3 separate regions of the Homo sapiens genome follow, and all the other regions are linked to region 1. Evidence: promoter capture Hi-C in human tissues and cell types (Jung and others, 2019). All regions are on one chromosome and are shown on one strand. Each heading gives the region's core, a stretch centred on a gene start or on the middle of the fragment in contact. The rest is flanking DNA. Distances are from core to core; before and after follow the strand shown. Region 1 holds the start of RBBP5 (RB binding protein 5, histone lysine methyltransferase complex subunit). Region 2 holds the start of CDK18 (cyclin dependent kinase 18). Region 3 has its middle 8.1 kb from the start of NFASC.

Region 1 (3,999 bases), core at 905-3,404:
TGGTCTCGAACTCCTGACCTCGTGATACGCCTGGCCTCTGCCTCCCAAAGTGCTGGGATTACAGGTGTGAGCCACTGCACCTGGCCTCACTATTTTTATTTTTAACAGCTTTAATTTTAACTTCATTAGCTATATTAGCATCCAATCTGTAAAAATTATTACATTGGAATCAGGCGTGGTAGCTCACAGCTGTAATCTGTAATCCCTGCATTTGGGAGGCTGAGGCAGGAGGATTACTTGTGCCCAGGAATTTAAGGTTACAGTAGTGAGCTATGGTTTCGTCATTGCATTCCAGCCTGGGCAACAGAGTGAGACCATATCTCTAAATACATATATATATGATTACTTTGGATTTGAGAGTAGAGTCAGAGAATTTAGAGGAAACTAGGCTGTGGTTTTCACACGATATTTTTCCTTGTTGCTTTTGCCTTTATGCAAAGTTTTCCTTTGTCTTTGGAGAGTAGAAAAACTGTGGATTTTTTTTTTTTTGAGACAGAGTCTCACTCTGTTGTCCAGGCTGGAGTGCAATGGTGCGATCTTGGCTCACTGAAACCTCTGCCTCCCGGGTTCAAGCGATTCTCCTGCCTCAGCCTCCCGAGTAGCTGGGATAACAGGCATGAGCCACCACGCCCAACTAATTTTGTATTTTTAGTAGAGACAGTGTTTCTCCATATTGATCAGGCTGGTCTCGAACTCCCGACCTCAGGTGATCAGCCCGCCTCGGCCTCCCAAAGTGCTGGGATTACAGGCGTGAGCCACCGCACCCGGCTGCAAAAGACATACTTTATAAAGGTCCAAGGATAATGGAAATAGAAGACATTAATGTAATATGTTCTTGGGAACTAATTGGATACACCAAGTATTATCTTTGACTAGTTTCTGGACTTCTGCTTCATTCTGCAACCTGCAGCCAACTACCATGGTGTCCATCTATTATTAGGCGCTTTAAATAGCTCCTTAATTCACATTTACTCTCTTCAATCGATGTGTCAGACTGTGGGGGCCACTTAATTCCCATTCCAAATTCTTGGGAAAGGAATTTAATTGGGTTGAGCTTAGGTCAGGGGCTTACTGAAAGAGCAATCAACTGGGGCCCAGGGACAGGGTGCACTGTGTGAATGAGGCTGCTTTTTCTGCAAATTTGTCAAGTAGAGGCAGACTGGACTAGCTACATAATTTGCAGGGCCCTGGGCAACATGAAAATGCTGGGCTCCCTAGTTCAAAAGTTTCATTATTGTTTCCAAAAGTTTGCAATTGCAGACAATACTGCGATTAATAAACTTGTGTATGTGTATTTTTCCATTGTCGGAGACCTAGCCCGAGTACTATTTTCTGCAGCGAGCCTTTGACGTTGTTTCCTTTTTCTGATGAGCCACAGCATTTATAGTAGGAATTTGTTCATATAAAATTTGCTCTTTCGCTAGATACCAGTAACTGGACTTCTCTAATTGCTTTGGGTATTTCATTGGAGTTCTGTATGACTGAGCTCCGGGAAACTCAGTCCACCCCTCATTCCAATTCTTTTTCACAGTCTTTTTCACAGCGTCCCTGTCAACACTGTTTGGTAAAGGGTAAAACCTTAGATAATAAGGTTTTTATTATCTTAACACAGACAGGCCTAACATATGTTGTCGTACCTTTCTGTAGGATCAATAGCATATCTTTACAAATGAGAAATAATTTTCACGAGACCGAAACACCCTGCAACGCCACCTACATACAGGGTAAGTACGCGCCTTGGTGAGGTCAGCGGCGCTACACACCCGAGCACTAGGGGACGACCTTCCCTGGTTTCTTGCATTAGCAGGACTTGTCCGGAACCTTTCCTGCGGAGTCTGAGGTAGCCCGCCCGGACAACGCCGCTGAACACACAACAGGGCAAGAACTAGTAGGTTAACTGTATGCCTGGAATTTCTACCTCACCTACATGTTCCCGGAGCAAATAATCTTAAATTGTCGCGCTATTTAAAGTCCCTAGTGACGATAACATTGTTGTACCTCAGCAAAGATCATAATTAATTGTTTCCGAGAGAGTGTATGCTTGATTTTGGTCAGGCATATATTTGGGCAGCCCACCTGAAACGAACAAGGAAGGCGGGGGAAGAAAGCGGAAGCCGCGGGGCCTTCTAAGGCCGAAAGTCTTCGGAGCTTGCGCCAGTCTCTTCGCGGCGTCCACCACTTAGACGCAAGTTGCTGAAGCCGGCCGGGGAGAAGGTGTTGTTGCCGGAGCTGAGACCGGGCGGCCACAGTCCGCAGGGATGAACCTCGAGTTGCTGGGTGAGAAGGGCTGTGGCTGCGTTTTAGAGAAGCGTTGGGTACTGGAAAGGAGGGAACCCAGGCGGGAGGGGAGTCAGGCTGCAATCTTAGGGACACTGTTCGGCTATGGATCACTGGGCACACCTGATGTGGAGCAGCAGCGGGAGGAGGAAGCCCACCTTCTGCCCGAGTAGGTTGCATTGCCCCTCCCGAGGCCACTTTCATATCAATTATGGAGCGATGGGGACAGACAGTTTGTGACTTAGCTTTGATTATGAGGATCGCAGGTGTTGAAGTACCCAGAGCAGCCAGGACCAGAGTTGTTGGAGATGGAATTTGAAGAAGTGAGGCTTGGGATGAAGCTTTGAAGACTTGTCAGGGAATTGGGTGCCTGAACAGGTTAATCTTTTTGTAGAAAAGAGAAGTCTAAGGAGGGGACTTGGAGATCTTCTGGTAGAAGCTTCTCATTGAACAGATGAATAAAGGCTCAGAGGGTAATGGCTAGGCACTAAGCAAGTAAATGGCATAGTTGGCACTGGAATCCAATTATCCTAACTTTCTGTTTAAGGTCCTTTGCTAGGGACGGTGTGTAAAACACTGAGGTGTGAAATACGGAGGGAGTTGTCTTTTGTCGCCCTCACTTTGAGTCATTGCCTCCTTACCTCCTATCCAGATTATTTAAAAACTGTAGGTCCTTTCTCCTGGACTTCCATTAGGTGACATTTAGCATGGTATTCTAGGGGTAGCTGAGGTTTTCAAGGACTTCTGCACTACTTGCTGTTCCTAATGGTTAGGTTTCTCTTTTAAAAAAGTCAGAAGATATGTTAATTGTCAAAAGGGCTACAAAGATACATAAAAAATGGTCTTTGCCCTTAAAGAGCTTTTCATTAAGCAGGGAGTTTAAGGTGATTATGTAAAATAGCTGTAGGATATTGCAGAATGTAGGCAGGCCTGAAAGAGTCATTACCAGTTGCTAAGAATGTTTGGAACAGAGAGTGAATGTCTTTGGGGTAAAGGAAGAAGTCAACCAGGAAAAACAAACCCCCCAAACCTGTGGAGGAGTTGGAGTTTTAAGTGGACTTTTTTTTTTTTTTTTAAGACAGCCTCGCGCCGTCGCCTAGGCTGGAGTGCAGTGGCACAGTCTTGGCTCACTGCAACCTCTGTCTCCTGGGTTCGAGTGATTCTCGTGCCTCAGCCTCCTGAGTAGCTGGTACTACAGGTGCGCACTGCCATGCCTGGCTAATTTTTGTATGTTTAGCAGAGATGGGGTTTCACTGTGTTGGCCAGGCTGGTCTCAAACTCCTGGCCCCAAGCAATCCACTCACCTCAGCCTCCCAAAGTGTCCGGCCTTAAGTGGATTTTTAAGGTTGGTAAAATATCAACAGGCTGAAGTATGAAAATATGGGAGGGATGTTCAGTAGGCATCAGTGAGAGAAGACCTAAAGAATTTTCCTGCTTGGCCAGGTTGTGGATAAAGAGAATGCCAGGGGATGGGATCGGTGCCATCTATTTTGTGTTGGTTCTCGAATGCCTAGCTCAAAAGTTTGGGCTTTTTAGGGAAGGTAGGGTAGATCCATTGAAGGATTTTGACTTAGTAACTCAATCAGAGCTATGAGTTTGTAAGGTTTGTCTGACAGCAATGTGGAGTTGAGTTTTGGAGGAGTGTAAAACCAGTTTGGAGGGGTAGATTATATGAGTGATGAGGAAGGCCTGAGCTAGGAAATAGAAAAGACATTGAGGAGG
Region 2 (3,999 bases), core at 761-3,260, 380 kb before region 1:
GGCTTGGGGTCAGACGGAAGTGGGCTGGATCCCACCTCTGTGTGACCTTGGAAAAGTTGGTCTCTCAGAGACTCAGTTTCTTCACCTGTAAAATGGGGATGATAATAATACCTACTTCATAAAGTTGTGACGCACTGCTTGGCGCACAGTAGATATTCAACAAATGGTGGCCACTAAGGCTTGTCTACTCTGCCTCTGGCACCCCCGATAAGTTTGGGAAGAACTTCTTCTGGCACGCGTGGAGAGCTTCTTCCATTCTCCTGGCAGGGTATGGGGAGAGTCCTGGGGACCCAGTGGGGAGAGTCCTGGGAACCCAATGGTCAGGTACACCCCAGATTAAGGGTGGGGGAGGGGTCAGCCCCACAGCCTCCTCAGCTGCACAAGAGGTGGCTGGGAAAGGGTAACCCGAGATAGCAGCTTTGCTGTGGCAAGGTGACCCTCTCTCTGGAACGCCTTCAGGATGCAAACCCGGACCTGGAGCCAGTGTCGCCCTGTACTCCACCGACCCTCAGCACCCTCAGCACCGTTTTCCCAGGCCCCTCCCAAGGCCAGGCTAAAGGCAGGGGATCTCTGAGGACGTGCCAGTCCACCAGGCGCTCCAGGCATCCTCTCAGGCCCGTGTCCAGGAATGTGCTGCATGCCCATGCCCGGGTGGGGAATGCCACGCGAACATGCCGAAGCTCACTGGGTGCTGACACAGGAGGGGCAAGCCGGTGGTGTTAGTGAGTCACAGGGCCCAGGCTACAGCTGGGGAACTGCCGAGGGCTGGGCTAGGGGTGGGGAAGAAGGGGAGACAGTAGCAGATAGCGCGGAAGAGGTTCCAGGGCCTCTCACTCCCACAGTGTCAATCCTCCCACCCCGACTGCCGGGAGGTGCCCAGAGAGAATGAAGAGAGGCAGGGCTGGTGCCTAGGAGGGTGCTGACCCTGCAGCACAGAAAACCCCTCACTGTTTCTGCAGCCCAACTCCCACCCAGCACAAGGTCTGCAGACACCTTCAGGGAATCCCCGCCCCCCACAGGGCGAAAACAGAGGCCTCCAGTCCAGACCCGATTTTGGATTTCAGATTCCTGATGGTGTCCCTCAACTACAGCAGAATCCTCAAGGCACATCTCCTTAGCCCAACAGGTCACCGCCCACTCCCCCCGGCCCCACCCAGCCTCCTTTCCCTCTGCTGCATTAACCCTCTGTCGCCTGTTGATGAGGGGTGGAGGGGGGCACTGCCCCTTTGGTCTTCCGGGGTGGAAAGAGAGAAGCAGCAGCATTCCCCAGACCCCTGCCTCCCCCAGAACTGGGACCTGCAGGGCTTCACGTGTCCTTCCACGTTCTTCCCAGGGCTCCGGCCTCCCACCCCCTGCCTGCCGCTCTGGAAAGTTCACCAGAGCCCAGGAAGCCCTTCAAGGCAGCGATGTGGCCCCACACTCTCGGGTCCTTTGGTCCCTGGAGACTCCTGACCCTTGCCCTTCCCAGAATGAAGGGAGCTTAGAAAGCGCCTGGTTCCGGACTGGGTGGAAAACTTTGCTTTGTAGGGTTCAGACGGGAGCCCAGGGGCCAAAGTGATCCCAGATGGAGACTCCCTAAGGGGGCGCGGGGTCTGAGATTGCAAAATAACCCTCCCTCTCAAGCACCTGGAACTTACGAGTGGCCTTTCGAGGGCACCCCCCACCCCTCAACACACAACACAGTATCACACAGATCACGCCTCGTGATCTCTGCTCTCCCCTCGCCGCTCCGGTATTTCCCTCCAACCTCTCGCCTCAGGGCAAAAGCAAAACTGCGCCTTTAAGAGCCGTTCCGCTTACCTTTGCTCCTTATACCCGGCGCCGCGGTGCCCGCTCCTCCGACCTCCCCCTTCCTCCCAGGCGCACCGCCCGCGGGACTCACAGCGCGTGTCCTGGGGGCCGCGGTGCGCCCGCTCCCTCCCGGGCACGGGGCAGCTTCCCCTGCTCCGGAAAGGTGAGCAGTTCCCCAGAGAAGCTGCAACCTGAGCTGGCCGAGGAGGAGGTAGAAGGGGAGGGGAAGGGAGGGAGTGGAGGAAGGTGGGGAAGAGGAGGGAGGAGGAGGAGGAGGAGGAGGAGGAAGGAAAATGCCCGGCCCCCGCCAGAGTTTTTCACATGTACAAGTTGACTCCGCCCCCGGCCCTCCCGCCCTGCCCACAGCCGCTACCAATCCCCAGGGCTCCCTCTGCCCGGGTGCCCACCCCTTTCTCCCACTCTGGGAACCAGGGTCCAAGTGCCTCTTCCTGTTTCGTTTCTAAAACCGGCCCTGAGAGCCTTGGCTAGGGGATGAGGCCTTCTGGACTGGATCACCCCAGGACACCAAGGCGCCAGGGGTACACTGAGAGTGCCTGCCTGTCTCTAAAAGCGGTGCTCCTACCTCTCCTAGGTACCTCCCTGTACCTGGCGCCCTAGGAACGAATGTGCATGGACAGATTTTGGTGGTCATTTTCTTGACAATAGTAGCCCTCGGGCTCCCCTTCTACCCTATCCAGTGGGACTTGTCACTTACCTTTCCGGACAAAGTTCCCACCTCTCCAGGACCTGAATGAAGCCCTTGTTACCAGCCATCATTCACATTTCCCTCCCCGAAGGATAATTCAACTTGTCCTTTTGGAATTAAACTCCACAGGATATTTGAGAATCATCCAAGAAGGGTTACAGAATGGCTAGTTCAGCTAGTGGCACTCTCATTTTACAGAAGGGGAAACTGAGGCCCAGCAAAGCAATTGAACTGGCCTAAAGTGCCACAAGAGTTCATGGCGAGCCATGATTAGAACTCAGGCCAATGGCCATTGCACCCACATCATCTGACTTCAAGGATCAAAAAAAAAAACAAAACAAAAATCTGGGGATGGGGGTGAAGGGCACAGTGCCCCACCGCCAGGCCCCTCTCATCTCTGCTTCCTCCTGAGGGCTGTGAGGAGAGGAGGTGTGCCTTGGCTCTATGGCACCTCATCAAGGCAGTCTGTGTCCCCTGCCCTACCAGAGGGCTTGGCTGCTGCAGTCTGGGGTCTCCCACAGGGAAAGTCTCCTTAGGAGGGGGTGCTCCACAGTGTACATGTGCTTCTACCTGAACCCTTTCCCTGGGGACTGTGAGTTGTTGAGAATAGAACAGTTTCCTTCTGGAAGACATGGGCCTGAGGTCCCACTGTCAGCTGGAGACAGGAGAATGAAGGAAGACACTGGGCCCATGCATGAAAGTGACCTGTGGGTAGTTGACATCTCACAGAGGGCCTCCCAACTCTTTTTTTTTTTTTTACCTCGCTTTCTCTGCCAAGGCATGCAGATTTCCTGGGCACAGCACTTCCTAAAAATGAAACTGCCAAGTGTTGTCGGGGTGCATGGATCCAGAGCCTTTAGGTGTGCAGCAACCTCCTGGCTCTGTAGTCCAGTGGATGGTGAGAAGCCTGGGGAGCAGGAGGCCATAAAGAGGTTTGGAAGGGGCAGGGAGGGAAAGGGAGAAGGACTATGGCCAAGGAACTGTTTACTGGCGGATTAGAGAGAGTGGGGCCAAAGGGTAGAATTTCAAGGAACTAGGGGGGTGAAGTCAAGAGGTCTCCACAAACACTTTCTCAACATCTCTTATGTGCCAAATGATAGCCAGGGCTCTGGGCACATAAGATGAGTATAACCCAGTCCCTGCCTTCAAGAAGCTCTTGGTGTAATGCGGCAGGGAAGCAAACAGTTAGGATGCTATAGGAGGAGGCTTAGTGTTACGGATGCCTGGGAGGAGCTATTCTGCTTGAGGTGAGGGTTACAGGATGAGGGGACAAGAGAGAGGAGGAAGGATTTTCCCTGTTTTTTCCAGGAGGGGTAATCCCTTGTGCAGAGTGCAGGGGTGACAGAATATGGACCCACAGTTCCATGAGGTCAGAACTTAAAGTCTGGGGTGGAGGTGACACTGTAGAGGCAGGCAGGTGCTGGGTCCTGAAGACCCCCAACGTGGAGGCTGATCCTAGTGGAAAATGAGAATGAGCTTAGACCACACAGCGGCAGCAGGGA
Region 3 (3,999 bases), core at 1,090-3,589, 300 kb after region 1:
TTGTGATGTACTCCTTTCTGAAGACTCAGCTTAAACATCTCTGGTGTGAAAAACAAAACAAAACAAAACAAAAAACTCTTCCTCTGCCAGACTCAGCCTCTCATCTGTGCAGCAGTGTACACAGTAAGGGCTTCCCTCATAGCACTTACTGCACTGCGTTTCCAACTGGAAGTTTCCTAGAACAGGGACCATCTTCCTCTCATTGTATCTACAGGGTCCAGCACTATACACTGCTCATAGCTGAAGCTATGGATGAGTGCATGATAAATAAAAGTATGAATAAAAGCAGAGCTGCTATGAATATAGACAGTGCTATCCAATGACAGTAGCCACTAGCCGCATGTGACTATTTAAATTTAACTAAAATTAAAAATTCAGCTCTTCAGTCACACTAACCACATTATAAGTGTACAAGAGCTGCATGTGCCTAGCGGCCACTGTATTAAATGACACAGATTAAAGAACATTGCTATAATTGCAGAAAGTTCTATTGAACAGCACTGGACTACATTATGATGGGCCCAGCTGAAGTTATGCAGTGCGTGACCTGCACAACTGTTCAGAGTGGGCCTGTATGAATGAAGGACCTCTCTGTGTGCAGTACTGTGACCGCTGCTGTGCTAGCTGCTGATCAAAGAATTACACAGACATTTATAGTCTAAGACAGGCATGAGAACATCTGAAAACACATTGTAAAGAATGGCCTCTCGATGAGTAAATATGGGTCAAATGAAGTAAACAGACTATGCGTAGGTATCATCAAATATAGAGAGAATGAACAGACCGAAGAAGGGAAATACAAAGAGGTTTGACGTCCTCACAGCCTAAAAACTAGTGTCTGTTTCCCTTCTTGAAATGGACATTACTTGGCTAGAATTATTTCCTGGAGAAATAAACATATTAGACAGAAATAACCATGCTGGCTATTGAAATATAGCCAAAGAAAATATTTGTCTTCACGTAGCAACCACAGAAGGTCTCCATCATGGCAACCACTGATTTTTCTGGATAAGGTAAGATTTATGATGGTCTTTCTGTTGTTTTCAATAAACCATGGAAATGTCCTATCCATTGCAACATTTCAGCCTCTAAATTGTCTTTCTGACACTGCTTCTTGCACATAGCAAATGTCTGAAAATCTTTTGTCACAGAAAGTGTCTCAGTTTTCTTTTTTTAAGCTATTACCTACCAGAAGTACCTCAGCTTTCTATCAGGAAAATGTGGTCCCTGTACCTTGAGGGTCTTTTTCACTTCCTGTGGGTTATTATTTTATTCTGTTAAAGAAACTGTTAAGTCCAAATGGTTAAGGATGTCTCCTGCACTGGGCCAGACCCACCCAGCTGGGGAAAAGGAAAGGAGACTTCGCCTTCACTTTGTAGCAAGTCAGGGGTACTGTGCTCCAGTCTCTAGACCCTAGACCCCAGACCCCAGACTCCTCTGTTTCTATCCTGTCCTGCCCCTGCCTCCACCCCCAACACAATTTCTGCTGGCTGGCAGGATCAGCAGGAGTAGGGCATGGAGCCAGGAGGTCGCAGCTGAGAACCCAGCCTGTGGGCCTGGCCACCCCCAATTAGTTTATCTTATTAATGCCAATTTATTAGCACAGAACCCCTGGGAAGTGGGCTGGAGGAGTTGTCTGTTTAAAATAAGCTTTTATATTTCAGGTCTGCAAACTGCACACCTGAGAGGCCAGGCCCGAGGTGGGTGGCCTTCCTGCCTCCCACCTCCTCTGGGTAGACCTGGGAGAGTGGATCTGACAGTGGCAGATGGGATGGTGTATGCTTCTAAATACAAGATTTGTCACAGTTTTACATGTAATTGTGCAGGCTTCCTTTTAAGGGTCCTCTACGACTTCATTAGCAACAAAGAATTACTCTATTAAGCTTTATAAATAACATAGCCTTAATAATTAAATCTTGTTCCTTCTCAGGGCCCCAAGTGGACTCACTCCTTCAGTTCTTAGGTGTTAGGAGCTGCAGTAAATGATATTTTCCTTATATTTCCTTAGGGACTTTCTGACTTGTAATAAGTCCTCATCATTCACCCCCTCATTGAAGCTGGGACTGAAATAAGTGGTGCCATATCCTCTCAGACACAAGAGAGCATTTTAAACAAATTGATGAACAGTCATCATTTAAGGAAAATATTAAAAGTACCTGAGACATTTTCATGGGCCATAAGTTCCCTCTGCTACATACGAACCAAGTGCTATGACCAGGTGAATCCTACCTGCAAAGATGTAGGAGTGAGAGAAATGAAACCCCTTTTCTTATTCAGACTCAGCTTTAAAAAACTCCAAGAGCAAACAAAAGCTGCTCATCCATCCTTGCCCAGGAAGAACCTCTCCATGGATAAGCATTCGGCTATTGTGTGCGTTGGTGCATATTAGGGGGAGAATGAGTCCATCTGAATCAGTGGTGCGCTAGTAAATAGTTAACAACTGGTTCACTGGAAAGAAAAAAACCCCTGAGGTATAGCATTTTCTGATTTCTGTGATGTAAATTCCCCTGCCATGGTCAATCTCAAGATGACAACATGATGTCACTCAATGTGATGAAGGAGAGACCATTATATTACATTTCCACCATACAGCTACTATGAACGTAAATAACCTCAAGATCATAGATAATAGTAAAACACAGGAAAATCATTAGAAAATGATGGGTTTCGAGTTATTTCTACTTTTTCATTTAATGTAATTATTTAATTGTAAGTTTATATAATTTAATGTTTCCTGATGGCTGTCTCTCACAGCTGGCTTGCAAAGTTCCTGAAAATTTAACAATCAGCTCCTGTGAGCTGGCATAAGCTTGTTCCGGCACATTATTGCCCTGGAGCCACTCAGTCACATGTCTGTGTCCCTGTTGTTATTGCCACTTCCAGCTTAGAATTTCTGTGTCATAGCTTCCATGGCAACCTCATGATGCATGATGCGTTCTTAAAAAGTGGAAACCAGACATAGACACTGCTAGTGACCCAGCCATATCCACTTTAGAGCTGGTGCTGCCATCCCCCAGCTGCTGTGAGTGCTGCAGCTAATGGGGAAGGGGTCACACCTGTGTCCCTCCCTGAAGCCCTGATCCCACTTCAGGACCTGCCTCTCCCTGAGATGCGTGGAGGTTGCAGTTGCCAGTGATGACTTACAAGGGGCAAAAATCCCTTCCCCTTGCCTCAAGGATGACTATTCTTCGGAGGAGTTACACTCAGAGTATCTGTGAATCAGGCCAAAGTATGATGTGCCTTTACATGGACACATCCTGGCTTGGCAACTTCCTTTATCCTGCTTTTCACATTCCCTTCTTCAGTAAATATGCACCAAATTGAACTCAACATGAGCAAAGACAGTACCAAGGCTGACAAATAGGCCTGCGTTCAGGAGCAGTAAGATAGAAACCTGCAGTCACACAAGGTTGGGCTGGGCTTTGGCACCAGTCAAAAGGGTTTTAGCATTGGTCCGGTTGGCATCAAACACCCTGCTACAGGGCCTTTGGCTGGGATTGCTCTGGGGCCAACTTTTCTCTATTTCCATGCACTTCAACATGGGGTATCAGTGCTATAACAAGGGTTCTAGAACATGAAATATCTTCATGGATCATCATTTTGGCTCAGATTTAATGAGAACATGGGTAGAATGGGGAAAGTTTTGTAATCTAGCTAGAAGGTAATTTTATGTATTTGTATACTGAAATAATAATAGCTAACGCAAGTAGTGATTACCATATGCATGTCTCTAAGAACTTGATAACAGATAAAGCACATTGAATCATTACTACAATGTGATGAGAAAACCTAGGCTAAAGACAGGTTAAATATGTTACCCAAGGTCTCCTAGCTAGCAAACTGAAGAGCTGGATTTGAACCTATGTGGTATGGTTCCAAGTCTGTACTTTTTTTTTTTTTTTTTTTTGAGCTGGAGTCTTGCTCTGCTGCCCAGGCTGGAGTGCGGTGGTGTGATCTCAGTTTGCTGCAACCTCTGCCTCCTGGGTTCAAGCAATTCTT

What was found. Contacts are between HindIII fragments. The study calls those that stand out against the background at their distance.
Region 2: a contact is called between the fragment with the promoter of CDK18 here and the fragment with the promoter of RBBP5 in region 1, in 1 of the 25 tissues and cell types used here (hippocampus).
Region 3: a contact is called between a fragment that was not itself captured here and the fragment with the promoter of RBBP5 in region 1, in 2 of the 25 tissues and cell types used here (hippocampus and neural progenitor cells).

The regions. Positions count from the first base shown.
Region 1 is chr1:205,120,133-205,124,131 of GRCh38, reverse strand. RBBP5 (RB binding protein 5, histone lysine methyltransferase complex subunit) reads left to right here and starts at 2,154. Exons shown (of 14, transcript NM_005057.4): 1 at 2,154-2,277. The coding sequence starts at 2,259. RefSeq lists a silencer at 1,177-1,471 and enhancers at 1,833-2,052, 2,193-2,372, 3,536-3,999. The HindIII fragment of the contact is 11,521 bases long and covers 1-3,999 here.
Region 2 is chr1:205,502,680-205,506,678 of GRCh38, reverse strand. It overlaps CDK18 (cyclin dependent kinase 18), which reads right to left and starts at 2,010. Exons shown (of 16, transcript NM_212502.3): 1 at 1,883-2,010. RefSeq lists an enhancer at 1-86. The HindIII fragment of the contact is 16,948 bases long and covers 1-3,999 here.
Region 3 is chr1:204,818,576-204,822,574 of GRCh38, reverse strand. No RefSeq gene overlaps it. Among named protein-coding and RNA genes, the nearest start is that of NFASC, 8.1 kb to the left of the region's middle. The HindIII fragment of the contact is 4,246 bases long and covers 217-3,999 here.